6 separate regions of the Homo sapiens genome follow, and regions 2, 3, 4, 5 and 6 are each linked to region 1. The links are contacts of gene promoters, found by promoter capture Hi-C in blood cells and fetal thymus (Javierre and others, 2016). All regions are on one chromosome and are shown on one strand. Each heading gives the region's core, a stretch centred on a gene start or on the middle of the fragment in contact. The rest is flanking DNA. Distances are from core to core; before and after follow the strand shown.

The links. Contacts are between HindIII fragments. The CHiCAGO score rates a contact against its expected background, and 5 or more counts as called.
Region 2: a contact is called between the fragment with the promoter of PCCB here and the fragment with the promoter of NSUN3 in region 1, in 2 of 17 cell types (total CD4 T cells and total B cells). The highest score is 15.7, in total CD4 T cells.
Region 3: the fragment with the promoter of TIMMDC1 here is called in contact with the fragment with the promoter of NSUN3 in region 1 in 3 of 17 cell types (naive CD8 T cells, non-activated CD4 T cells and total CD8 T cells); the score reaches 23.3 in naive CD8 T cells.
Region 4: a contact is called between a fragment that was not itself captured here and the fragment with the promoter of NSUN3 in region 1, in 2 of 17 cell types (naive CD8 T cells and activated CD4 T cells). The highest score is 8.1, in naive CD8 T cells.
Region 5: the fragment with the promoter of B4GALT4 here is called in contact with the fragment with the promoter of NSUN3 in region 1 in 4 of 17 cell types (naive CD8 T cells, total B cells, total CD4 T cells and 1 more); the score reaches 7.6 in naive CD8 T cells.
Region 6: a fragment that was not itself captured here is called in contact with the fragment with the promoter of NSUN3 in region 1 in 1 of 17 cell types (non-activated CD4 T cells); the score reaches 8.1 in non-activated CD4 T cells.

The regions. Positions count from the first base shown.
Region 1 is chr3:94,059,910-94,064,339 of GRCh38, reverse strand. It overlaps NSUN3 (NOP2/Sun RNA methyltransferase 3), which reads right to left and starts at 1,279. Exons shown (of 6, transcript NM_022072.5): 1 at 1,202-1,279. The coding sequence starts at 1,213. DHFR2 (dihydrofolate reductase 2) reads left to right here and starts at 1,424. Exons shown (of 2, transcript NM_176815.5): 1 at 1,424-1,594; 2 at 2,734-4,430. The coding sequence starts at 2,829. The coding sequence ends at 3,392. RefSeq lists an enhancer at 1,146-1,385. The HindIII fragment of the contact is 2,538 bases long and covers 1-2,419 here.
Region 2 is chr3:136,247,785-136,252,393 of GRCh38, reverse strand. PCCB (propionyl-CoA carboxylase subunit beta) reads right to left here and starts at 2,054. Exons shown (of 15, transcript NM_000532.5): 1 at 1,836-2,054. The coding sequence starts at 2,018. RefSeq lists enhancers at 1,580-1,629, 2,260-2,319, 1,549-2,415. The HindIII fragment of the contact is 10,493 bases long and covers 1,571-4,609 here.
Region 3 is chr3:119,496,078-119,500,565 of GRCh38, reverse strand. It overlaps TIMMDC1 (translocase of inner mitochondrial membrane domain containing 1), which reads right to left and starts at 2,019. Exons shown (of 7, transcript NM_016589.4): 1 at 1,639-2,019. The coding sequence starts at 1,832. RefSeq lists an enhancer at 2,230-2,279. The HindIII fragment of the contact is 2,873 bases long and covers 1,495-4,367 here.
Region 4 is chr3:133,487,117-133,491,483 of GRCh38, reverse strand. BFSP2-AS1 (BFSP2 antisense RNA 1) reads left to right here and starts at 375. Exons shown (of 4, transcript NR_189064.1): 1 at 375-582. It also overlaps the pseudogene MAF1P1. RefSeq lists enhancers at 2,254-2,383, 2,404-2,453, 3,605-4,105. The HindIII fragment of the contact is 969 bases long and covers 1,331-2,299 here.
Region 5 is chr3:119,239,628-119,243,980 of GRCh38, reverse strand. It overlaps B4GALT4 (beta-1,4-galactosyltransferase 4), which reads left to right and starts at 3,103. Exons shown (of 8, transcript NM_003778.4): 1 at 3,103-3,131. All of the region lies in intron 3 of B4GALT4-AS1 (B4GALT4 antisense RNA 1), which reads right to left. RefSeq lists silencers at 2,237-2,286, 2,937-3,416. The HindIII fragment of the contact is 11,429 bases long and covers 2,401-4,353 here.
Region 6 is chr3:119,463,752-119,468,453 of GRCh38, reverse strand. No RefSeq gene overlaps it. Among named protein-coding and RNA genes, the nearest start is that of TMEM39A, 2.5 kb to the right of the region's middle. RefSeq lists enhancers at 4,589-4,648, 4,679-4,702. The HindIII fragment of the contact is 1,575 bases long and covers 2,665-4,239 here.

The DNA.
Region 1 (4,430 bases), core at 30-2,529:
TTTGGATAATTACTAGTTCTTGAAATGGAAGCAATACCTTACATGTACCAAAACTGTACATTATCTAATTATGAAAAAGCAAGGTTTTTCCAAATAATTATTTTCCAAATGTGAAGCAAAGGTTAAAACAGAATCTACTGGGGCTGAAGAAACTGTCAAAAGGAACAAAATTAATTTTAAAAAGTCACTGTAGGGGCTAGGCAGGTGGCTCACACCTGTAATCCCAGCACTGTGGGAGGCAGAGGCGGGAGGATCACATGAGGTCTGGAGTTCAAGACCAGGTTGGCCAACACGGGAAACCCGTCTCTACTAAAAATACAAAAATTAGCCGAGAGTAGTGGTGGGCGCCTGTAACCCCACCTACTCAGGGGGCTGAGGTGGGAGAATCGCTTGAACTCAGGAGGTGGAGGTTGCAGTGAGCCGAGATCGCGCCACTGTACTCCAGCTGGCTCATGCTTTGCAGGGACGAGGCGAGAGGATCATTTCCCAGTTCAAGACCAGACTGGAAAACATATCAAGGACGTGTCTCTACAAAAAGTAAAAAAAAAAAAAAAATTAGCCAGGCGTAGTGGCCTGCTCCTGTAGTCCTAGCTACTAGGGAGGCTGAGGCTGGAGGATCGCTTGAACCCAGGAGTTCAAGGTTACAGTGAGCTATGATGGAGCAGCTGCATTCCAGATTGGGTGACAGAGCAAGAACTTGTATCTAAACAAAACTAAAAAGTCACCGGGGATGCTGACATCAAGAAAAATTGGTGAAAGGTATTTGAGAACTCTGTACTATCTTTGCAACGTTATTTTAAAGTGAAAAGTTAATTTAGGGAGAAAAGTCACTCCAATTTCATCGTGAACTTCCTTGCAATTGTTTCATTTATTCATCCAAGAAACGTGTATTCAATGCCTACTATGTAACAGACACTGTTCTAAGCTCCCGGGATACCGCTGTGACACAGAAAACAAATCTCAGCCCTCCAAGAGCTGGAGGGAGTGGGTACTAGAAGTCTGCGAGCTGGACGGAAGGGACTCAGCATTACAGCACTCAGCATTATTTCAGGGCTTGACAGTAAAGCCAAAGAAACGCTGATCTCGCGAGGGGACGAACAAAGGTGATGTTCCCCCATCCCAGCACCCTCCCTCGCCACCTCGGCCGCGTCCAGAAGCGTCTCATTCAGATAGAGGTACCCAGCCGGGCCCCAGGTCTCACCTGGGTCAGCATTGTCCCGCTGAGAGCTTTCAAACAACAGGTGTACGCGAATCAGTATCAAAAAGCCTCCAGGGAACTGAAAAAAACAGTCTGACTTCCGGGATTCGCGGGCATCCACTTTCATTCTCACGTTTCCTCTTCAATTTCTCGCGAGATACTGATTTGCTCGCGCTATAGAATTCTTGTCGAAGAGGCTTAGCTCCCGCGGGAGATTTCGTGCGCAGTTACTTCCGGTAGCTGGTAAAGGCTGATACTTCCCAGGACGCGGAGGTAACGGGCCAGGGCCAAAGCGACTTTCGCTACTTGGATTGGTCGGCGTAGCTTTGGGCGGCCGGACCTTAGAAAGTCACACATCTGCGCGCCTGTGCGGCCCCTGCTTCTGCGGATGCTGAGGTGGGAGGATCGCTTGGGCAGAAGTTTGAGGTTGCAGTGACCCGTGATCGCGCCACTGCACTGCAGCGTGGGCGACAGAGCGAGGCTTTGTCTCAAAAATAAATAAAAAGTCGCATATTGTGCTGAACAGTGTGTATATGCATGGGGCTCAATAAAGGAATGAGTTTTGGGGTTATGTTGTATGATGACTGATTTAAAATATTCTCAAAGCGAAGCTAGTTACTGACTTAATCTACCAAATCTAGTGACCCCTGTTAACCTAGACATTCAGTACCCAAGGATAAAAGGGTGGAATATAATGAAAAAGAAATTAAGTCATGCTTTTCCCCAGACCTGGCCCATGGGGATAATCTCTCCTTTTAATGGAGAGTGTTAAACTGAAGTAGGCATGTAAAGCGGTTACAACAGTGATTAGGAAACAGTAAATGCCCAAATGTTAGCTGCTATTATTTTCACTATTGTGATCATTGTGATTTTTGTCGCGTTGATACCAAATGCGTGAAGACCAAAAGGACCCTCCACTCTAGCCTCCCCAATTCACCTTTACAAGGGAGCAATGTTTAATGGTTCTCCAAGGAAGATGTTTATTACACCTATTTTGACACGAATAGAAGTTTATTTGCTCTTTTGGTGTCATGCTTCAGTAACTATCATTTGTAGCAGCAATCAGCAATTAGAAAAAACCGGTTTGATATGGTCCCTGATAGTTAATAATCATCATTTTGAGTTGTTCCTTGATGCTCATATCAATATACGTACATGCTATAGGTACAAGTCTTATATTCATGTAAAAACATGTCTTTCCTTCTAATCTGATTTGAAGCTTAATATATTTATTTATTTAAACAAGTTTCCAAGTCACCTAAAAAATGCATCTTATTAGAATTTAGATTTGGTACAAAAGACTATGATAATCAGGAATGAAATGATGCCATCTCTTGGATGCCGTCTGTTTAATGTTTGTGGAAAAGTCGGTCTAACCTTTCAGCCTCTGTATTTTTTATAATTTTATAAATTTATATTTTATAAATATTTTATAAATTTATACTTTATAAATATATTTTATATAATTTATTTTTCTATGTTCATTCCAGAATGTTGCAATTAATTAATACAGTGGTATTGTATTTGCAATGTAGGCACGTAAAAAAATTTGAAGAAGGGAATTTCGCGGCATTCTTGGCCTGGCTTCCTGGCGTAGCCAGCAAGTTCGGAGGTGTTAACCGCTGCTGTCATGTTTCTTTTGCTAAACTGCATCGTCGCTGTGTCCCAAAACATGGGCATCGGCAAGAACGGGGACCTGCCCAGGCCGCCGCTCAGGAATGAATTCAGGTATTTCCAGAGAATGACCACAACTTCTTCAGTAGAGGGTAAACAGAATCTGGTGATTATGGGTAGGAAGACCTGGTTCTCCATTCCTGAGAAGAATCGACCTTTAAAGGATAGAATTAATTTAGTTCTCAGCAGAGAACTCAAGGAACCTCCACAAGGAGCTCATTTTCTTGCCAGAAGTTTGGATGATGCCTTAAAACTTACTGAACGACCAGAATTAGCAAATAAAGTAGACATGATTTGGATAGTTGGTGGCAGTTCTGTTTATAAGGAAGCCATGAATCACCTAGGCCATCTTAAACTATTTGTGACAAGGATCATGCAGGACTTTGAAAGTGACACGTTTTTTTCAGAAATTGACTTGGAGAAATATAAACTTCTGCCTGAATACCCAGGTGTTCTCTCTGATGTCCAGGAGGGGAAACACATCAAGTACAAATTTGAAGTATGTGAGAAGGATGATTAATATGAAGGTGTTTTCTGGTTTAAGTTGTTCCCCCTCCCTCTGAGAAAAGTATGCATTTTTACATTAGAAAAGGGACTTTTGTTGACTTCAGATCTATGGATAATTATTTCTAAGCAACGTGTTTTTATTCCTCACTAATCTTGGCTATATCAGATACCATTTATGAAACATTCTTGCTATAACTGTCTCTCCAAGACCCCGACTGAGTCCCCAGCACCTGCTACAGTGAGCTGCCATTCCACACCCATCACATGTGGCACTCTTGCCACTCCTTGACATTGTCAGGCTTTTCTAATGTTGGTAGTATTTATTAAAGATGAAGATGCACATACCCTTCAGCTGAGCAGTTTCACTAGTAGGAAATACCAAAAGCTTCGTACATGTATATCCAGAGGTTTGTAGACAAATGTTGCAGCCTTTTTTGTAACAGTGAAAAACTGAAAACAACCTGGAAGTCCAGTGATGGGAAAATGAATATATTTCTGTCTTAGATTGGGGAACCCAAAGCAGATTCCAAGACTGAAATTTAAGTGAAAGCAGTTTATTTGCTAGGTCATACCAGAAGTCATCAATCGAAGTATGGAGAAATGGAACTGAGAAGGTAAAAACCAGTTCAAAATCAGTGAGGAGGTTCTCAATGGTAACGAGCTCCATACTGCTGAGATACAGGGAAACGGAGGGGAGAAAGCTAGAGTATTTAACCCCCACTCCTTGGTTGTCAGCTCCCTGTCCTGTGTGTGGGCAGAACGTACTCCACCTACTCAATAGCAAGTTCCAGGTGTTTGCTGAAAGAAGCTGCTGTAATGTACGGGAACGGTGAATGCCAAACACTTAAAGCAATTCCATGTTTAAGTATGTAAACTCTTCATACTTTTTTTTTTTTTTCTTTTTAAGACAGAATTTCACTCTTGTTGCCCAGGCGGAGTGCAATGGAACAACCTTGGCTCACGGCAACTTCAGCCTTCCCAGGTTCAAGCAATTCTCCTGCCTCAGGCTCCTGGGTGGCTGGGACTACAGGCGCGTGCCACCACGCCAGGC
Region 2 (4,609 bases), core at 805-3,304, about 42 Mb before region 1:
ATACCTGTAACCCCAGGTACTCTGGAGGCTGAGGCAGGAGAATTGCTTGAAGCTGGGAAGCAGAAGTTGCAGTGAGCTGCTGCACTCTAGCCTGGGCAACAGAGTGAACTCTGTCTCAAAAAAAATAAATAAACTTACACCCTTTGACCCACTAATTCCTCTTCTGGGAAAATCTACGGAAATGGTCAAAAATTGTTTTAAAAGGGGTGCAGGGCCGGGTGCAGTGGCTCACACCCATAATCCCAACACTTTGGGACGCCAAGGTGGGTGAATCACTTGAGGTCAGGCGTACAAGACCGGCCTGGCCAACATGGTGAAACCCTGTCTCTGCTAAAAATACAAAAAAAAAGTTGCCAGGCATGGTCGTGGGCACCTGTAATCCCAGCTACTTGGGAGGCTGAGGCAGGAGAATAGCTTGAACCTGGGAGGCAGAGGTTGCAATGAGCCAAGATCGCACCATGGCACTCCAGCCTGGGCAACAAGAGCAAAACTCCGTATCAAAACATAAAAATAAAAAGGGGTGCAGGAGGGGGTTCATATTAAATCAGCCTCCTAAGTTAACTTTGGCAAAAGAAAAACAGCTTCTGGAGGCTTCATCTAAACCTAGTAGGATCTACCTGGGAAAGGGCTAGGCGATGTTCCAGGGAAGAATTGAGCAATAGGCCCCAACAGAAAGAGTGTACAGGAGCACTGACAGGCCTTTCCAGAGGATGATCTAACATCTCCCTCAGCCCTAACAGAGTAGGTTAGAAGTAGCCCCAGGGGAGAGAAAGCACTCCTAGCACCACAAACCATCACTAAATTTACATTTCACTCTCAAGTGTCAAAAGGAACTGTTACCTTTGGACCCTTGTCAAATGCGAATTTATGACATCTGAATCAATATTAGACAAATATAGAGCTGTTCAAATCTCCTCACTTTAAGACCCCATCCCTCCCCCAGTGCCTCCCTCATGGTTGTGAGTTGTGCCTGAATACTCTTCATCTGTAAGAGTTTCACTTCTGCACCTTCCCGTTGGTTAATTCGTTCAGCACAACGGTCCAGACTCACCCACCAGTCACGGACACACTGGGCAAGCCTGGTTTCAAGTCAGGGATCACCTCTCCAAAATGGGCCGCCCAGCTTATCTCTGAAGGCCAGCTGGATTCTCGCCTCAAAACCCAGGCGGTGGGTGGCAGTGTTTCAACTGCTCAGTCCAGCCAAACATCGAGAGTAGCCTGCGCACTCCCAGAAAGGCCACCTGCTTCCGACACGTGCCTTTGCTACCCATCAAGGCGAGGCATGCTAAGGCCCTAAAGAGCTCGACCAGGCATTCTGCGGGCAGAAGTTCCACAAGTTCCTGCACGCGCACATCCCCCATTTCATGTTAGTGGAGTATGCCCAAGTTCAGTTTTCCTGCTTCCACAAAGGAGAAAGAACCTACCATCACTCTTTCATGGGGCACGAGAATAAGCACATGGTTTTTACTGAGCGCCTATCATTTTGCTATCTATGGTCTAACGATACACTTGTGAAGGAAGAATTATTATTAAAATGACCCACAGAGATTTAATAAGTTGCCCAAAAGCTTATGTTAAGTGTTGAGCTGGCTAGAGACGAGCCAGATCCGTCTAAATCCCAAGGGTTAAACAGTATGAAAAAGCACACAGGTGCTTCTGCTGGTTATACCCGCCTCCACGAGAAACGCTACAGGTTTTCAAGGTGAACACCCTTGCTCCGGCCCCTCCAGGCACCGTGCGGATTGGCAGGGAGGCCTCGGACGCCGCAAGCCGGGCACGCAGTGATAGGTCGCGGACGCCAGGGGCGGGACTCACTTAGGCCCCTCAGGACTCACTCGCTTGTGCTGCGCGTCAATACGGCGTTGGCCCCCTCCCAGCAGCGCGGTCCGGCGCTTGTTTTCGATGCGTTCGTTAACAGAGGTGGCCTGGCTGCAAAGGCTGCGGACCGCGGCGCGGAGACCGCTCGCCAGAACGCTGAGCCTTGCCCCGACCGCCGCCACCCGTAATGCCGCCGCCATTTTTGCTGTGCCGGCGCGTCCCCTACCGGCGCACCTGAGTACGCATGTGCTAAAGCGTGGGTACGGCGCTTGCGCAGCATCGGCTGGCTGTAGGGAGCCGCGGGGGCTGGACTACAGAACCTGCTTGGGAGTAAGGCGTGAGAGTTCGAGACCCGGTGCTGCCCGAGGAGGGTCGCGCAGAGAAAAAGTACAGGGCCTGCCTGGCTGCACAAAAAAGGGACATAGTCCTTGCTCTTCTCTGACCACCTAGACCCTTAACTTTGTCGTCCCACTTCCTACAGAAAATGATTATAAGATTTAACCAACATTTATTAAGCATTGTGCCAGGTGTTGCTTTTTGCACTTACCATGCACTAGCTTACTATCTGGATTTCACAGATGAGGTAAATCAAGCACAGAGAGATGAGTGATTTGATCAAGAGGCAAGACTGAGGCCGAGGTAGGTGAGCCCAGGAGCCCAAGACCAGCCTGAGCAATATAGTAAGACCCCACCTCTACAAAAAAATTAAAAATTAGCTGGGCATGGCGGCTTGCACCTGTGACCCCAGCTACTCGGGAGGCTAAGGCGGCAGGATGGCTTGGCCCAGGAAGTCGAGGCTGCAGTGAGCCGTGATTGCATCACTGCACTCCAGCCTGGGCAAAACCCTGTCTCAAAAAAAAAAAAAAAAAAAAGCCAAGACTGACAATGTGGTTGGCCAGGATTCAAACTCAGAGACCTATCATTAATATGTGCCAGATAATGAGCACAGGACCCTTAACCTCTAATCAGTAGTTCTCAAAGTATGGATCCCATTAAAGAAAAAACTATTCATGACACTTAATTATTCATGTTTAAGAATGGTAAGGCAAACTTTATTCAGGCCCAATCTGACAGAGGTAGGGATAGAGTTTTGCCATAAGTCAGAGCGATTGGGCTGAATATAGCAAAGTGGTAATTTATAGCTAAGGGGCAGTGTGTGGAAGTCAGTGGATGGAAAATTACTAAGAGGAAACATTGGCGGGGAATCTGGCTAAATTGACCTAACAGGATTCCTGCCCAAGGCAGGTCAGGGTAACTGAACATCACCTGGGGGATGGTGGCGGTATGGGTCAAAACCAGATATGGAGAGTAATCAGATATCAAGAATGGAGGATTCTGGCTAAACTGACTTGGCAAGTTTCTTGCTAAAATGGAATTCCACAAGGAATGACATGGGAGCCCACACTCAGGCCTAGTCAAAGAGAGAGCTCAGAAGAGCCTGACCAATGTTTGATCAAGGAGGGAATCTTGTCAATCCAGCAACTTCAGTATCACCTGGGAGTGAGTTGGAAATGCAAGCTCGAATTCTCAGAACTTACTCCAGACCTTTAAATCAGAAACTCTGGGGCTGGGGCCAGCCATCTGTTTTAGCAGATGACCTTTAGGTGATTCTGATCTGCTTGCTAAAGTTTAAGAACCACTGCTCTAGGAATTTGGAATTGTACTGTTGAGAGCTTGACCATCTGTTTCTCCCACTAACAGGCAGGTCTTCAAGACAAAGAACATGGTTTATATTTCTCATTTTTAGCCACAGAAAACTGCTAAAGTTGATCATGAGCCCTTCCCAGATCCAGCTCATAGCCAGGGCCTTCATAAAGTACAAATTCTGACCTATGACCTTAATGTTAATGCAATTCAACTCAGAAAACATTTTTGAGCACCTACCATGTGCCAAGAACTAAACATCAGTACTGATTGCATTTCCTGGAGTAGTAACAGTTCATCTAGATAGAGAGGGCAGCTTAGAGGCCAAAGCCTCTTGGCTAGGCAAAGCCCACCTGTATCTGTATAACTCCGTAATGGGTACTCTTGACCTTGCATTTGGGTCCTTGCTTTAAAGACTTTACCAACCTAGAGAGGCAGATGGACAACCTAGAGAGGCAGATTGCCTTGGGAGCACAAGAGAGAATTTGAGTAAGGCTGAGTGTGTTGAGGAGAGTTTCTCCAAGAAAGCATCCATATGCCAGGGAACAGAAGCAGTGTGAGCAAAGGCCTGGCATGTTCAGATTCACATACACAGACACACACACATACTTTGTTGTGTTCCCAGCTTTTGGGGAAATGGTGGTAAATGAGACTGGAAAGTGAGAATGGCATTAGATTGTGAAGAGTTTTTTCATGTTCAGAAATTGGGACTTGCTTTTGGCCTGGGGGCAGTTGGACTCCCTTGTCCCACAGTGCCTTGTAGGTTCCTTACATAAAGCACATCTCACACTGTGTTAAGATTGTTTAGCTGTCTTCCTAGACAGACTCTCCAGCCAAAGGTCAGGGACTGCAGCTGATTTGCTCACCACTGTGGTCCCAGCACCTGGAACAAGGCCCAACGCAGAGAAGGCCTTTAGAATGTATTTGTGAAATTGAATCGAGCTAGCAAATAGGCAATTGCATGTGAGTCCAGAGGTTTTCGCCCCCTCCTCTATGTCTTTTCAGGCTCTGAAACCTGCTCAGGTATCATCTCCTCCATGCAGTCTATCCTGATCCTCAGAAGCAAGGAAGTTTTTCTTATTTAACTTTAGATAACCAGTGCTTAGTAGAAAACCCAACACAGGGAGGCTCACTGAACCTAACTGCT
Region 3 (4,488 bases), core at 770-3,269, about 25 Mb before region 1:
GAATTAAACAGTTCAGTTATATTAAAAGGAACGTAGTCTCAGACAAAACGAAGCTATGGTGTTAGAATTAGGATAGTGGCAACTCCTGAAAAGACAATGACCGGAAAAGGCACAAGGGGAGCTTTTGGGATGTTACAATAGTTGCCATTTCTTTCTTAGTGCTGGGTACAGCTATGTTCAGTTTGTGAAAATTCATCCATCAGTATACTTAGGCACATTTTTCGAAATGCATTTCCTACTCCAATAAAAAGTTTTTTAAAAGGTGCTTTTGATGACTATTACACCCCTAGAAATAGGAAGAATTTGTGAGTTGGATAGAGAGACCAATATTTCCGTTTAAATCTTAAGTTAACTTTTAGAAATCACACCAACTCGTGAGATTTTAGGGCAATGTATGAAAGAATAAAAACGTGGATGTAAGACAAAAAATCTAAATTCTATTTTACTAAATAATTTCATGAAATACTCAGATAGGACTGTACTAATAAAAGCACTGGGCTGGGCACAGTAGCACACGCCTGTAGTCACAGCTAACTTAGGAGGCTGAGGTAGGACTTGAGCCCGAGTTCAAATCCAGCATAGCAACATAGCAAAGATCCTGGCTCTAAAAATAAACAAATAAATGTTTTTTTAAAAACGCACTGGGAAAGTTCACTATGCAGTGGGTGGCACATGCCAATCTAAAATAACAAGGAAAAACTACTATTTAATTCGATTTGTTACTCTCAAATGCATAAGAAGCTAGAACTGCTAATGAAGCTTCCAAGATGTCATCCTGAGACTGCTCTAACAAATAGCTGTCTTAAGTATTAAGTTACTATAAAATAATTGCCCTTCTAGGCCGGGCGCAGTCCAGCCGCGGTGGCTCAGGCCTGTAATCCCAGCACTTTGGGAGGCGGAAACAGGCAGATCACGTGAGGTCAGGAGTTCCAGACCAGCCTGGCGAATGGTGAAATCCTGTCTCTACTAAAAATACAAAAATTAGCTGGGCATGGTAGTGGGCAACTGTAATCCCAGCTACTCTGGAGGCTGAGGCAGGAGAACCGCTTGAACCTGGGAAGTGAAGAGTGCAGTGAGCCAAGATCGCACCACTGCACTCCAGCCTGGGCGATAGAGCGCGACTCAGTCTCGAAAAAAAAAAAAAAAAGAAAGAAAAATACGAGTTTGGGCTGGCGCGGTGGCTCACGCCTGTAATCCCAGCACTTTGGGAGGCCGAGGTAGGCGGATCGCCTAAGTCCAAGAGTTCAAGACCAGCCTAGGCAACATGGTAAGAACCCTGTCTATAAAAAATACATTAAAAAAAAATTAGCCGGGCGTGGTGGTGCGCGCCTGTAGTCCCAATTAATCGGGAGGCTGAGGTGGGAGGATCACTTGAGTCCCAGAGGCAGAGGTTGCAGTGAGCCGAGATAGCACCACAGCACTCCAGCCTGGGCGACAGAGCAAGACCCTGTCTGGAAAAAAAAAAAAAAAAAAGAAAGAAAAAAGATACAAGCTTGGGTTACAAATATCAGAACCTCAAATATAATCTAAAAATGAAGCACACCATCCTTGGTGTCCTAAGGCTGACCCAGGCTGCCCACGCTGCAGGACACCGCTTTCGCGGCCCCCTACCCCACTTCACACCCTAGGCACTTTTACTCTTTGCCAAACAGCTCCCGGAGGCGGTCCCATCCAGATTCCGGGTAATAGGGCTCTGGGACGTAGGGAAGCCGCTTCTGACGCTCCTCAAGGACTTCCGAATCGGCAGTCACAGCTTCGGCAGCAAAGACTCGGGGAAATAGGCACAATGCTCTACAGAGAAAGCTCCGCGGTGCCGGTGGCGGCACCTCCATGGCCTTCTCTCGACCTACGGACAAACTTGAGCGCTCAGGACTTCAAGTCCTCGCGGACGTGCCGCGGGAGAGCGTAACTGTACGAGGTGAGAATCCGTGCATTTGACCCAGGTTAACCCTCTGCCAGAGGGCTCGACACCCACACCTTCAGTCCCCGGCCTCGCTTTGGAGTCCTTGGAAATACGACACAGGAAGTCCCGCCCGACCGGGGCAAAGGCCAGGGGGCGGGGCGACGGCGAAGCCGGAGCCCAAAAGACTTCCGGTTGAGGGCGGGTTGGGCCACTGCTGTGCTGAGTGCACCCCCGGAAGTGAGTTGGCTGCCAGTAGTGAAGCTCAGCGTGGTCCCGGCAGGCCTTCGCTCCGTGTTTGTGGTTCCTGGGTCATGCAAACGGTGTCTGCGGCTACTTATATTCAGCTTGAGGTGGTCATAGGTTGAAGTAATTTATCGTATTTAAAATGCCAGGAATTAGCCGGGCATGGTGGCGGGCGCCTGTAATCCTAGCTACTCGGGAGGCTGAGGTAGGAGAATCGCTTGAACCCGGGAGGCGGAGGTTGCAGTGAGCCGAGATCACACCACTGCACTGCAGCCTGGGCAACAAGAGCGAAAATCTGTCTCAAAAAAAAAAAAAAAAGGCAGGAATCCCGCTTCAGTAAGGAAGAAAGTGCAATATTCAGTGCAAGTGGAGTAGGGAAAGAGGGAAAGGCGATTTGTGCAAAAACAAGTCCAACCTACTCTGCCAACATTAGAGAAGCCTTCCAGGCTGGGCGGGGTCCGTTTGTACCTTGTCAGTTCTGCTGGAAAAAAAACGAGGCATTGGGGATGGGTGTTGGTGCCAGTTACACTAAGATTTCGAGAACACTTTTTTGAAGAATCAGCTTTTTGGCAGGTCTTCCTAAGGTGGATTTCACTCCCTTTAGTTCATATGCCTACTGCTTCTCAAAAGGCAGGAGAATTTCTGGAATTTCTATCAAGTGTTTGTATAATTTGCCGTCACTACAACCTCTGCTAACATATGCTTCGAAGTACAGTTTTCATTAAAATGAATGCATTTAAAATATTCTCAATATTCGTGTAATTTCATTCAATCCTTGTTAACAAGCATACTCCCTTATTCATTTTGCCAATCCCTTCACCTCCTTGATTCCTTTCTAGTTGTCAATCAAAACTGCCACACTGTAGTAGAATACAGTAAGTGGACTTAGGAATTTGATAGCTGGAAATGCTACACATAAGTCCCTGAGAAGTGACTGACTAGAGTGACCAGCTCAATTAGTGACAGCGCCATGAAGACTACTCTGGGATATGAGATTTGATTCAGCACTCATCGTAGCACTTACAACACTGCATCATAATTTCCTATTAATCTGTCTCAATAAACTATCCTTGAGATCACAGACCAAATATATTCATCTCTGTATCTCCAGGACCTAGAACCGCAGTAGGTGCTCAGTAAATATTTGTTGAATAATTCAGATCTCCTGACTTCTGGCTCTGGATTACTGCTTATCCCATGTTAGGTAGAAGTGGGCACCAAGATAAGTTACCAAGGCCTGAAAGCCCAAGAAAATGGCTGTACAGTCTGTTTCTAACCTATATGTAGAAAAAGCTAAATGCATAAGATGACCCCAGAATTATTCTGGGGTGAAGGAGGACTTGAAATGGGTAGGAGGGTTTGGGTGGGTGTTGGGAAGATACTGACACAATCACTTATGTACAACTCAAATGCCCCAGGATTCACTAGCCTGTAGATGAGGTAATATTAACAGGCAAATTTTAAATTCCATAACTTGTTTCTCATTTGGGTAACGGAAGACTCATTTGTAATGTTCCTTTTGCCACCTGATAACTCAAAAAACTCCCCTCTCCTTTGGCTACTGCTCGCACTGTTGCTGCTCTTCCATCTGAGCCCTCCCACATTTCCTACTTCCCCAATCCCTTACGGCTTACCTTCTTTTAGAACAAGGGAAATGCTCACCCTCCTCTGTAGTCTGCTTATTTTATTTTATTTTTGATACAGTCTTAGCTTCGTCACCCAGGCTGGAGGGCAGTGGCAAGACCTCGGCTCACTGCAACCTCTGCCTCCTAAGTTCAAGTGATTCTTGTGCCTCAGCCTCCTGAGTAGCTGGGATTACAGGCATGTGCCACAAGCCTGGCTAATTTTTGTATTTTTAGTAAAGATGGTGTTTCACCATGTTGGCCAGGATGGTCTCAAACTTCTGGCCCCAAGTGATCTGCCTGCCTCAGCCTCCCAAAGTGCTGGGATTACAGGTGTGAGCCACCAAGCCCAGCCCTGTAGGCTGTAGTCTGCTCTTTTTGAAGGTTCTCCGATCAATACAGTCTAAGCCAGAGGTGTCCAATCTTTTGGCTTCCCTGGGCCACATTGGAAGAATAATTGTCTTGGCCCACACATAACACTAACTGTAGCTGATGAGCTAAAAACAAAAAACAAAAAGAAAAGAAAAAGAAAAAAGTCCATGCATAAATCTCATGTTTTAAGAACGTTTACAAATTTGTGTTGGGGCGCATTCAAAGCTTTCCTGGGCCGCGTGCAGTTCGTGAGCCATGGGTTGGACAAGCTTGGTCTAAGCCAAAAGGTGTTATGGGGTTTACTGGACCACTGTTTCACATATGGCTTTCTTGTCCCCAGGACATGTG
Region 4 (4,367 bases), core at 566-3,065, about 39 Mb before region 1:
TTTCTCTTCCTCCTCTTCCCCCAGTTCCAGGTCCATCTCGTTGCCTGCCTCTGAGGGTGTGCAGGTGGAGCTGCTAATGGAGCGGTGGCTGAAGAAAACAATTTGCTTGAGCCCTTTGTTGTAGAAGAAGTAGTTGAAGGACCAGAGGGTATCTTCTTCTCTGAAGGCATCTGGGTCCATGTCTGGGTTATAGCTGTGGGTGTCTCATTAAGCCAGGTGGATCTCCTCATCCACTGTGTTCCACAGCTGTGTTCTAGGACCTTGATGTCCCCCCACGCAGCTGAGAACAGACTGCGGTTGACTGCATTCACCACCCACCTGAGGCTGGGCTTCCGGCTGAACCCATGGCTGCGGGCTGTGCTGAGGTCATAGTCAGGCCTGAAAGGACTCGCTGAGCATGACAATCAAGTGGAAGAGGGTCTTGCAATTGCACTTGTCCCTGAGGGGGGCCCTTGTCCTTGCCACCTTGGTTCTTGCTCAGGCTGCTGGGGCTGAGGCCTGAGGTCTGGGATGGGGAGAGAGCCTTCAGTATGTGGGCCGCCCTCCTGTCAGAACAGTGTTTGTCGTCTCCTGCTATCTTACGTGAGTAGCTCTCAATCCTGCTGATAATGTGGGTATCTTTGCTCTCTACAGTTAGCTGTGAGTTGATGGCTTCAAAGCCCAGTTCTCCAATAGCTTCCTGTCTCAGGGAGGGAGCTCCATGCTTGAGAGGGGCCATTGCTGCCTGCCTGGTGGGGCTAAATCAGGCCTGGCTGGGTCATCGGCACCGGTGCATAGGCAGGGCAGGCTCCGCACAGTGTGGGCTCCTCAGCACCAGAGGGTGGCACCGTGGCATCCACCTGGGCCACACTGTATCTGGGGGAAGAAACTCCATGGCAATGTTTCATTATACCTGGCCCTGCTGGCTCATCCAGGTGGTCACTATGACACATCCTTACCACACTGCACATTGCCTGCTTTAGCCACCAACATGCCACCAACCACCACAGATCACCTTGGTCAGCCAGCAACCTCCACCTCCCCCACCAGTCAATGTCTATCAGTCAAAATTCCTAGAACTAAATAAGTATAAAAGAAACTTAACTACTTCAACTTAAAAATAATTTGCTTCTGTCTGCCTATGAAAATGTTAATATTTGTGAAATCTGAGTGAAGGGTATATGGCAATTCTTCAACTATTCTTTCAACTGCTCTGTAAGCCTGAAATTATGTTAAAATAAAAATTCAAAAACAAAAGCCAAAAACCTTGTACCCTTAAGGGTTACTTGAGTTAGTGGTTCACAGCAACAGATACTCAAATCTGGTTTGTGTTACTTCTGAAAATTAAGCTTCATATCTTTTTCTTCATGGCTCTTTCTGGTGTAAAGTACAACTTGAATCTCATGTTAGAAGGTCTATCCCAACAAAGCCCAGACCACTGGACTCTAGAGGCTTCACGCATGTGGCAGACTCCTGAATATTGTCAGGCTTTATCTCCCATTTTCTGGCATTGCAGGTACTTTACTAAGGCATTTAGGTGCTAGCTCTTTGGGGCTCTCCAGGTCCAATTAGCATGATAAAGATATGTAATGGATCAGCTTGGGCTTCTGGGTCCCTCCAGATTGCATTCTGACTAAGTGCAGGCAAGCCGACATAGCCCGGAGGCAGGACAGTAAAAGTATACTGCTGTCCCTGCCACAACAGGGCAGAAGAGGATTAAGGTGGGGGTGGGCAGGATAAAGCATTTGCCAGGTCAATAGTGGCCCAGGTGCCAGGGACTGTGTGGATTTGCTCCAGTAAAAATACCGTCTCTGCAATTCTGGTTGTGATTCACCTCACCACTGGATTAGTCCGTGATGATCTGTGGTCATTTTCTATGACCTACTTGATTTGTACACTGATCAAACAAGTGAGTTAATTGTGGATTTGGTAGGAATCACTACCTTGTATCTTTCAAGTCTTTGGTGGTGGCATTAAGCTCATGTGAGGAGCAGAAAAAAAGTTTGTGAGAAGGCTGGCACACTGTAGGAGCTTGATAAATGATAGCTATCATCATTGTTGTTGTCATGTGTTATTGTCTTAGCCAAGTCAGGGTCAAAATTTACATTATCTTTTTTCTTTTTGAAATATCATATTTCATTGCTCCTAAGAAGCATACTGTTGTGTACTTTAACATCTCTGAAGTCAGGATATGATAATAGTTGATGGTATGTTGTGATTGCTGTTGTTTCGATTAAAATTGTGTTCATTTGTAGAGGATTTTTCTTTGCTTCTGCCTGTCACTTGGGGCACAGGCTGAGTTACCAATGAGAGTAAAGCTTCAGGACACCTCATTTGCATGGCCCTTCCAAGGTCCTGAAAGGGTTCCACCTCACAGCTTCATGGGATCAAATTACATATTTTTTTTCTGAGACAGTCTCAATCTGTTGCCCAGGTTGGAGTGCAGTGTTGCTATCTCAGCTCACTGCAAACTCTGCCTCCCAAGTTGAAGTGATTCCCATGCTTCAGACTCCAGAGTAGCTGAGGCACGTGCCACCACACCCAGCTAATTTTCTTTGTATTTTTAGTAGAGAGATGCAGTTTTGCCATGTTGGCCAGGATGGTCTCAAATTCCTGGCCTCAAGTGATCTGCCTGTCTCAGCCTCCCAAAGCGCTGGGATCACAGATGTGAACCACCACACTCAGCCTCATCATAGGTTTTTATAAAATTTGCAAGAGTAAGATATTTTGTATTTCTTTTTTAAAAGAGGGCATCAAATTATATAAGCTTTGGGTTCTACCCTTGCCAAGGAACTCATAATAATGTGAAACTACAGGTGGTCCCTAACTTTACGATGTTTCAGCTTATGATTTTCCAACTTTGTGATAGTGTGAAAACAATATGCATTCAGTGTGCTTCTCAACTTACAACTGGATAAAGTTGACTTATGATATAGTCACCTTATGATGGTTTATCAGGACATAACATCATCATAAGTTGAGGTGCATTTGTACATTAAATTCTCTGAGGTTTTTTTGATGGCACAAGTAGTACCAGAAAACTGCATGAGAACCAACTTTTGATTCAAATTATACGGGCAGATTTTACTTCCTCCATCCATGGCAAAATTGAAACATGCAACTTCTCTTGCTGTCCTACTATGCATGTCCCTTTCTTTCTCTTTTTTCTGTATATTTCTCATGGACCCCCTCCACAGAGGCCTTTAGTGTCTCAGCTTTATCTGGGGTCTAATAGACTTCTATCTGGAGTAGTTTCATTTTTAGTGGCACATCCAGTAATGGTATCTCTATTAATCAATGATGCCTTAGGTTCCATGAACATAGTACATAATAGGGTACTCAAGATGGGTCCCCCTGAGACCAGCAGGCTGGCCTGTGGAGTTTGGACAACACTGCCCCCTAGAGGTCTGTCTTGTAACCTGAGAAGATTAGCCCCCTAACAATTACTGACAGGGAGTTTCTTAAAAATCAGGAAGGATGCTCACTTTTATTTATTATTTATTTTTTATTATTATTATTTTTGAGACAGAGTCTTGCTCTGTTCCCCAGGCTGGAGTGCAGTGGTGCAGTCTCAGCTCACTGCAACCTCCACCTCCAGGGTTCAAGCAATTCTCCTGCCTCAGCCTCCTGTGTAGCTGGGATGACAGGCGCCTGCCACTACACCTGGCTAATTTTTAGATTTTAAGTAGAGACGGGGTTTTACCATGTTGGCCAGGCTGTTCTCGAACTCCTGACCTTGTGATCCACCAGTCTCGACCTCCCAAAGTGCTGGGATTACAGGCGTGAGCCACCGTGTCTGGCCTTATTTATATTTTTAAAAACAGGATCTCGATCTGTCACCCAGGCTGGAGTGTAATGGCATGATCATGGCTCCCTACAGTCCCCACTTCCTGGGCTCAAGCAATCTCTCCCACCTCAACCTTCCAAGTGATGGCAGTGGCAGCTTATCTGGAGCAGCTGCTGCAAAGACGCTGGCTGCAGTAGGGGAGGCACACCAGGGCTGTGTACTCCAGGAAGCTGGCAAGAGCCGGTGGAAGCTGGCAGGAGCCGGTGGAAGCTGGGAACAGGAGGAAGCCAGGACTCATTCCTGGTTGGAGAGACAGGAGCCCCACCCTCCCAGGTGCAGCTGCAACTGCCCAGCTGCCCTGCAGACCTAGGCATTCCTGCACTCTCGGGGGCCAGGAAGTCCCCCATGGCCCCATAGGCTTGGGAATGCCTGCTCCTGCTGCCTGGCCTCTCTCTGCTCCTGGCACCCACTATGATTGTGGAGCAAAGTGAGGCTGCCCAGCTGTGGCTGCAGACTCGGGCATTCCTGCAGTCTTGGGGGCCAGGGAAGCCCTCACAGGCTTGGAAATGCCTGCTTCTGCTGCCCAGCCTCTCCCCACCCA
Region 5 (4,353 bases), core at 1,854-4,353, about 25 Mb before region 1:
TATAGATGGCTTTAGCTAAGGCTCATGCTCTAACAAGAAAAACTAGAGCAACTGTTGGGTTTCTGGACTGATGCCAAAAAAAAAACCCCTAGGAAACAATTTTATTAATGCCAATGCCTCTCTGTGAAATGAAAGCCACCCTAAAACCTCAAAAGCAGATTGGAAAGCTATCTTTAATTTTGTAGATATCACTGCTACTTGCTTTCCTACACTTACTGAAAGCAATAACCCAACTTCTCCAATTAATAACCTACCAGCTACCAAATATAGAAAAGCTGAGTGATTCTTTTTTTTTTTTTTTTTTAGATTAACTTGCTTGGCTCCTTTATTATTCTCCTTTATTATTAAACTTCCTCAGCATAATGTGATTTGGGCAGACAGAGATGTTATCCTGTGGCTTATTGTTGGCCTACATTCTCTTTTTTTTTTTTAAATTTATTTTTTTTTTAGTATTTATTGATCATTCTTGGGTGTTTCTCGGAGAGGGGGATTTGGCAGGGTCATAGGACAATAGTGGAGGGAAGGTCAGCAGATAAACATGTGAACAAAGGTCTCTGGTTTTCCTAGGCAGAGGGCCCTGCCGCCTTCCGCAGTGTTTGTGTCCCTGGGTAGTTGAGATTAGGGAGTGGTGATGACTCTTAGCGAGCACGCTGCCTTCAAGCATCTGTTTAACAAAGCACATCTTGCACTGCCCTTAATCCATTTAACCCTTAGTGGACACAGCACATGTTTCAGAGAGCAGGGGGTTGGGGGTAAGGTTATAGATTAACAGCATCCCAAGGCAGAAGAATTTTTCCTAGTACAGAACAAAATGGAGTCTCCTATGTCAACTTCTTTCTACACAGACACAATAACAATCTGATCTCTCTTTCTTTTCCCCACATTTCCCCCTTTTCTATTGGACAAAACCGCCATCGTCATCATGGCCCGTTCTCAATGAGCTGTTGGGTACACCTCCCAGACAGGGTGGTGGCCGGGCAGAGGGGCTCCTCACTTCCCAGACGGGGCTGCCGGGCAGAGGGGCCCCCCACCTCCCAGACGGGGCGGCGGCCGGGCAGAGGGGCCCCCACCTCCCAGACGGGGCGGCGGCTGGGCAGAGGCGCCCCCCACCTCCCGGACGGGGCGGCTGGCCGGGCGGGGGCTGCCCCCCACTTGCCGGGCGGGGCGGCTGGCCAGGCGGGGGCTGCCCCCCCACCTCCCGGGCGGGGCGGCTGGCTGGGCGGCTGCCCCCCACCTCCCGGACCAGGCAGCTGCCCGGCGGAGGGGCTCCTCACTTCTCAGACAGGGCGGCCAGTCAGAGACGCTCCTCACCTCCCAGACGGGGTGGCGGCGGGGCAGAGACACTCCTCAGTTCCTAGACGGGTCGCCGCCGGGCAGAGGCATTCTTCACCTCTCAGACGGGGTGGTGGGGCAGAGGCGCTCCCCACATCCCAGATGATGGGCGGCCAGGCAGAGACGCTCCTCACTTCCTAGACGGGGTGGCGGCCGGGAAGAAGCGCTCCTCACTTTCCAGACTGGGCGGCTGGGCAGAGGGGCTCCCCACATCCCAGATGATGGGCGGCCAGGCAGAGACGCTCCTCACTTCCTATACGGCGTGGCAGCAGGGCAGAGGCTGCAATCTCGGCACTTTGGGAGGCCAAGGCAGGCGGCTGGGAGGTGGAGGTTGTAGCGATCCGAGATCAAGCCACTGCACTCCAGCCTGGGCAACATTGAGCACTGAGTGAGCGAGACTCCGTCTGCAATCCCGGCACCTCGGGAGGCCGAGGCTGGCAGACCACTCGCGGTCAGGAGCTGGAGACCAGCCCGGCCAACTCGGCGAAACCCCGTCTCCACCAAAAAATACGAAAACCAGTCAGGTGTGGCGGTGCGCGCCTGCAATCCCAGGCACTCGGCAGGCTGAGGCAGGGGAATCAGGCAGGGAGGCTGCCGTGAGCCGAGATGGCGGCAGTACAGTCCAGCCTCGGCTCGGCATCAGAGGGAGACCATGCAAAGGGGAGACGAGGACCGTGCAAAGGGGGGAGGGAGATGGGGAGGGAGACAGAGAGGGGGAGGGGGAGGGGAAAAGCTGAGTGATTCTTGCAAAAGGTATATATTATGCTTCCAGGCATCATATGCTCAAGACCTGGGGACTATGTGGGTATAAGTAACTGATTGTATAACGCCACTGGATGAAATCCAGTAATGTCCTTTTTCACTAAATGTGGTTATACACCCTTACAGCATGTTACAAAGGGAACACAAAAAAATAAGTTTCACACTGGACCTTGTTCAGGAGCAGTGTTGACCTATTTCACTGACCTATCCTCAACTGCCACTAGGTGGCCCTCTTTTCCAGCTTCCAAGGGCCTACATTGGGCCTATGCGGCCTCAGTATAGCCTCAGATTTCCTGCTATGAAGCTTAATGAGCCCAGCACTGGCTCTAGCTATGGTTTGTTCCTTTTTGGGTGGAGTGGATGTGTGGTTCTTGGAGAATCTACTACTTTCCCGTGAGTGCAGTGGGAGACTGCATTAGAGAATCTAGCTATCCTGACTGCCTAAACAGAGCCTACCATAATTTTTCACTCAAATCTTTAGTGTAAATATAATTGTCTTTGCTTTCTGTAATAATATCTTTGAAGAAATACGGATTTAAAAAAATCATTTAATATTCTCAGACCTGCAACATGGGAAAAATATTATTATTATTATTATCATTTTTGCAGTTGAGAGGGCTGAAATCTCGCAGGGTGATTAAGTTTATTAGCCTCTCTAAAGTCTCAGTTTCCCACTCTGTAAAATGGAAGGGTCCCTATCTCTTTCCTACTGCTTTGTGAGTATTTAAGGGGATGGAATTTGGGAAGCGCTCAGCACCCAGTCTACTATTGGCACAGGGTTTTAAAGCCACCCAGAGGCCGAGGCGTCAACCCTCCGTTTCCCTCCCGGTGCTCCTTCCAGCGCCCGGTGTGGTCGATTTGGCGGGGGTGGAGCGCCAGGCGCGTGCAGAGCCGGGCGGACCAGCCTCTCCGGCCAAGGCGGGAGGCGGAGCTCGTACTCAAGAGCCGCCTCCCGGGCGGCTGGGGCGGTCCCCGAGCTGCTTTCCGCGTTCTCCCCTCTCCGCGGGCAGTGCTAGCTCGCCGCGGCCGCCTCCGGGGTGAGTACGCTGGCTCCGCCGGCGCCCGGGAAATGCAGTTCCCTGGACACGGGCGCCGTGCGAGGGTAGCCGGGCGACGGCCGGGGTCAGTCCCAGGGCTGTAGCGGGGCGGGCGTGGGGATGACGTGGCGGCGTCCGTGGGGCAGTCCCGCCTCAGCCGGAGCGGTGGGCCGGGCCGGGGGCCTACGGAGGCCGAGCCTGGCGGGAGGCACCGGCTCAGGTGCTGGCGTTCCGCGCGGCGCCGCCTCTGCTGCGGGCCGGGGGAGCCAGACGAGGTGCTGCCGGGTAGGAAAAAATCCAGGGCTCATTCATACCCCAGGTCACGATTCCGGGGTCGCCCCCAGCACTTCTCCGCCGGGTGCATCAACCTGAAAAAGCCCCTTCTTCCTGGAAACCCTCCTTCTCCAGCGTTTCAACGGGGAAACTGATCAGCTGACACCAGCCCCAGTCCTGCGAGGGGCCGGCGACCTTTGACCTTTCTCCAAAGGGGTTGGTCACCTGGATTATAAAAGACTTCGGAGACAGCCATCCAGTGTTTGTTGATCTGTATCCCTTGATGTTCTGTCTTCCATTAGATAAGGGCTGTTAATTCTTGGTTTGAAAAAAAACAGACAAAGTCCAAAGGACTCTGCATCGAGGAGAGGCCTATGGGTTGGTAGCCTTAGGAGAGTAGTTATCAACAGTGGGTGGGTGTGCACACTGTTGCAAAGTGTTCCAGAGTGGGTGAGGGATGGGGACGTGGCGGTGGTGAGGGTACTGGTAGACCTCCTCAGCCGTTTGGTGATGAAAAGGAGGAAAAAGAAAATGGTAATCTGAGCGTGGAGGCGAGTTGTGGCTTTTTTTTTTTTTTTTAAATTTTTAAAGAAAGGAAAATAACACCTTTAAGATGCAAGAAAATCAAGGAGAGATCAGGATGAATAGGATTCAGGGTCCGGATTGAGAAACTGGGATTCAGAAGGGAGGGCTATTCCCGAGACCCAGGCGGGGAGTGCTGGAAGGTCTCTCTTGGGAGAGGAGATAATGCTTGATTGGATATAGTTCAGAAGTTTTTGGAATTTTGTCTTCTAGAGCAGGTTTGTTCTTTATGGAAATTGTAAACCCCATGAAATTGCAATAACTTTCGTCTACCTATAGCTTTGATCAGATTGAAAACATACGTTGTGAAAAAGTACTGACCTGGATTGAACTGTTTGACTACATAATCTAAGGGGAAGTGGATAGA
Region 6 (4,702 bases), core at 2,203-4,702, about 25 Mb before region 1:
TTGTTTTGGACAGAACTCTGGCACTAGGCCTCAAGAGAGCAGACAAAACCAGAATGGAGGCAACTTGTCCTAGGTGCTGCGTAATTAAACTCAGCTTTAAAAGGGGTCAGTTTTCCAACAAATAGGAGAAGGGGCCCATATACCTGAGCTGGCATGATAAAGAAGTCCCCTCTGATGTAACTCTTTGAGGAAAGTAACTTCAAAATGACCAATCTGCTTTTTGTTCCTTATTTCTGCTTTCTTCAGCCCTTTTCTGCCTATAAGCCCAACCCCTTCTGCTCAGCTCATTAGAACACTTTTCTGTTTTATAGATGAGATGCTGCCTGATTCATGAATCACTAATAAAAGCCAATTCGATTTTTTTTTTTTTTTGAGACAGAGGACAGTCTAACTCTGTTGCCCAGCCTGGAGTGCAGTGGCACAATCTTGGCTCACTATGACGTCTGCCTCCCGGGTTCAAGCAATTCTTCTGTCTCAGTCTCCCGAGTAGCTGGGATTACAGGAGTGTGTCACCATGCCCGGGTAATTTTTGTATTTTTAGTAAAGACAGGGTTTCACCGTGTTGGCCAGGTTGGTCTCAAACTCCTGACCTCAGGTGATCTGCCCACCTCGGCCTCCCAAAGTGCTGGGATTACAGGCGTGAGCCACCATGCCTGGCCAAGAACTTTAAACTAAATTTGATGAAATTTTGTTTCTTGACAGTGGGCAACATGATACTGGACAATATAGGTATATAGTATAGTACAGGTATATATCTTTATACAGGTATATATAGGTCAGTGTAGATATATTTAGTAATCATAGAACTACAAATATTTATCTATTTTCTTTTTTTTTTTTTTTTTTGAGATGGAGTTTCGCTCTTGTTGCCCAGGCTGGAGTGCAATGGTTCAATATCGGCTCACCACAACCTCCGCCTCCTGGGTTCAAGCAATTCTCCTGCCTCAGCCTCCTGAGTAGGTGGATTACAGGCTTGCGCCACCACACCCGGCTAATTTTGTATTTTTAGTAGAGATGGGGTTTCTCCATATTTGTCAGGCTGGTCTCGAACTCCCGACCTCCGGTGATCCACCAGCCTCGACCTCCCAAAGTGCTGGGATTGCAGGCGTGAGCCACTGCGCCCAGCAATATTTATCTATTTTCTAAAATGTACATGGTTATATCCCTAAGCCTTGTGGAAATATGGAAATACAGGGAAGTACAAGATCAAATCTGTGCTCCCAGGAGTTTAGAACTAGTAGGGAAGACAAATATGCTTCCTTAGAGATAGTTTACAATTTAAGGCAATAGTTAAGTGCCACTGGTTTCAGTGGAGGAAAAGATCAATATGAAGTGGAAATCTGGAGAAAGGGGTAGGAGGGGTATATTTTGTACTGAAGAAAAGGAAACGTTACAGTTAAGGAATATTGTGCTGGAGTCACTAAAAATATGGGAGCCATAATTTGCAGAAGGTGGGGATCAAATTTAGCTTGACAGTAGTGGAGGCTTTAGGATGCACGTTAAGGAATGGTGGAAGAGAAAATAATGTTGATTACCTAGGAATGGGCCGTATCGGTCACATATTACACCCATATGGGCATTTGGTCTATATTCCACCAGGGCAGAACCACCCAGTTTTTGTATGAGTGAGGCTCACTTTGGGTGAACAGACAGGAAAAAAAATGTATATCCAAAACTATAGCATATTTCTTCTGGAATCCAAATGAAACTTTAGTCAAAAATTTTTCTACTTCCAGGAAGGTGTGCAGTACAGTCATGTGTTGTTTGACAATGGGAATATGTTTTGAGAAATGTGTCAGGCAATTTTGTTGTGTGAACATCATAGATTATACTTACACAAACCTAGCTAGTATAGCCTACTACATACTGAGGATATTTGGCATAGCCTATTGCTCCTAGGCTACAAACCTATTCAGCATGTTACTGTACTGAATATTACAGGCAATTGTAACACAATGGTAAGTATTGGTGTATCTAAACATTGAAAAGGTACAGTAAATGAGTAAAAATGATACACCTGTATAAGGCACTTACCATGAATGGAGCTTGCAGGACTGAAAGTTGCTCTGGATAAGTCAGTGAGTGGTGAGTAAATGTGAACACCTAGAACATTACGCTACTATAGATTTTATAAACACTGTACAGTTAGACCATACTAAACTTATAAACACGTTTTTCTTTCTTCAGTAATAAATTAGCTTATTGTAACTTTTTTACTGTACAAACCTTTTTTTTTCAACTTTTTGACTTTGTAATAACACTTAGCTTAAAACACAAGCACATTGTACAGCCATACAAAAATATTTTTTCTTTCTTTCTTTTCCTTCCTTCCTCCCTCCCTCCCTCCTTTCTTTTCTTTTCTTTTTTTTTTTTTGAGACAGTCTCGCTTTGTTGCCCAGGCTAGAGTGCAGTGGTGCTATCTCAGCTGACTGCAACCTCTGCCTCCCAGGTTCAAGCAATTCTCGTGCCTCAGCCTCCTGAGTAGCTGGCATTACAGGTGTACACCATAACACCTGGCTAATTTTTGTATTTTTAGTAGAGACAGGGTTTCGCCATGTTGGCCAGGCTGCTGTCAAACTCCTGGCCTCCCAAAGTGTGGGGATTATAGGCATGAGCCACTGCATCCGACCTATTTTCTTTATTTCTATCTTTATTCTATAAGCTTTTTTCTATTTCTAAAATGTTTTATTTTGTTTTTTACTTTTTAAACTATTTTATTGAAAACTAATATGCAAACACACACGTGTGTGTTTGGGTCAGGCCTATGCAGGGTCAGGATCATCAATATCACCATCTTTCACCTCCACATCTTGTCCCTCTGGAAGATCTTCAGGGTCAAGAACACACATGGAACTGCCATCTCCTAGGATAACAATGCCTTCTTCTGGAATACCTTCTGAAAGACCTGCCTGAGGTTGTTTTACAGTTAACTTTCATTTTTTTAAAATAAGTAGAAGGAGTACAATCTAAAATAACAATAAATGTATAGTATAGTAAATATATAAACCAGTAACAAAGTAATTTATTATCATTATTTAGTATGTTATACTGTACATAATTGTATGTGCTATACTTTTATACAACTGGTAGTGCAGGTTTGTGTACACCAGGATACATTGCACTACAACATAAAGACAGCTACATCATTAGGCAATAGGAGTTTTTCAGTTTTATTATACTCTCATGGGCTCACCATCATTTATGTGGTCTTTCATTGAAACATCATTATGGGACACATGACTGTATTTAAAAATGAAAAAAAAACCAGAATGGTTGTACGAGTACTGGAAGTACAGTTTCTACTGAATGAGTGTTGGTTTTGCACCATCATAAAGTTGAAAAATTGTGAGTCAAACCATCCTAAGTTGGAGACTTGTGTGTATTCCTAAGTGACAGCTCTGTGGTACATTAGGACATTAGGAATATTTGGGAATATTAGCAACTTTACTGGTTTCGATATCAGTCATTCTGGCTCTAAATTCTGGTTCTGGCTCTTATTAGCCAGGCTATTTTCTTTTTTTTCTATTATTATTATTATTATTTTTGAGACAGGGTCTCTCTCTGTTGCCCAGGCTGGAGTGCAGTGGCACAATCTCGGCTCACTGCAAACTTGACCTCCAGGGCTCAAGTGATCCTCCCACCTCAGCCTCCCAAGTAGCTGGGACTACAGGTGTGAGCCACCATGCCCGATTTATTTTTTTACTTTTTTCATAGAGACAAGGTTCCACTATATTGCTCAGGGTGGTCTCAAACTCTTGGGCTCAAGTGATCCTCCTGCCTTGGCCTCCCAGTGTTGGAATTACAGTCATGAGCCACCCTGCCTGGCCAGGCAGGCTATTTTCAACAAGCTACTTAACTTCTCTTAACTTCAGTTTCTTCTGTAAAATAATAACCATAGTAGAAGCTATCAAAATGTGAGATTTAAATGAAATGTGTAAAGCTACTAATCCAGTGCCTGACACAACAAAATTCTTAATAAAGGTTAATCATTCAATCAATACAAACAACTTTCTATTAAGGAGATTAAAATCTCTGGAGTGAAAGATTACACAAATGCTCCTTTTGACACTCTTATCTTCTTCTAATACCAAACTATTGTCAATTCCTGAACTCAAGATGACGTTGCTCACAGATCTTTACCTTTTTATCTGCCACTTCTCCAGGAGGACTGCCATTCTCCCACAAAGCCCCTATGCCTTTGTGGAGTCTTGGCTGAAACCCCAAGCTCTCTGCAAAGCTTTTCTTGGTATTGACATCACCACCATCCCACAGAATTCGTTAGTGTTACATGCTATCTCTGGACCTTGGACACACTTTTAATATTGTAACAAATGGTAATTACTGTATTTTCTTAGTGTCGCCTCTCTTCCACTAGACTCTGAGCTTTTGTGGTATTCGCTTTGTAACCACAGCATCTGTCTAGTTCTTAGCAAACAATAAGCGCAGGGTTGGATGCTGACGCATGACTTCATGACTTGGGCTCCCTCACTTAGCAGTAACGTGACCCTAGGTGACACCTCCTAATCTACACTCATCTGTAAAATGGCGGTGATAACTTGTACATGGTTACTACATGGAGTCCAAGAGACAGCAAGAAGGATCAGTAGCATGGTGCCCGCACCTAGCAGCCGCTAGCTGACTGAGGCCGAAAGAGGAAATGCTTTGGCCAACACTGGCCGGAAGGGGCGGGACCGCGAGTTAA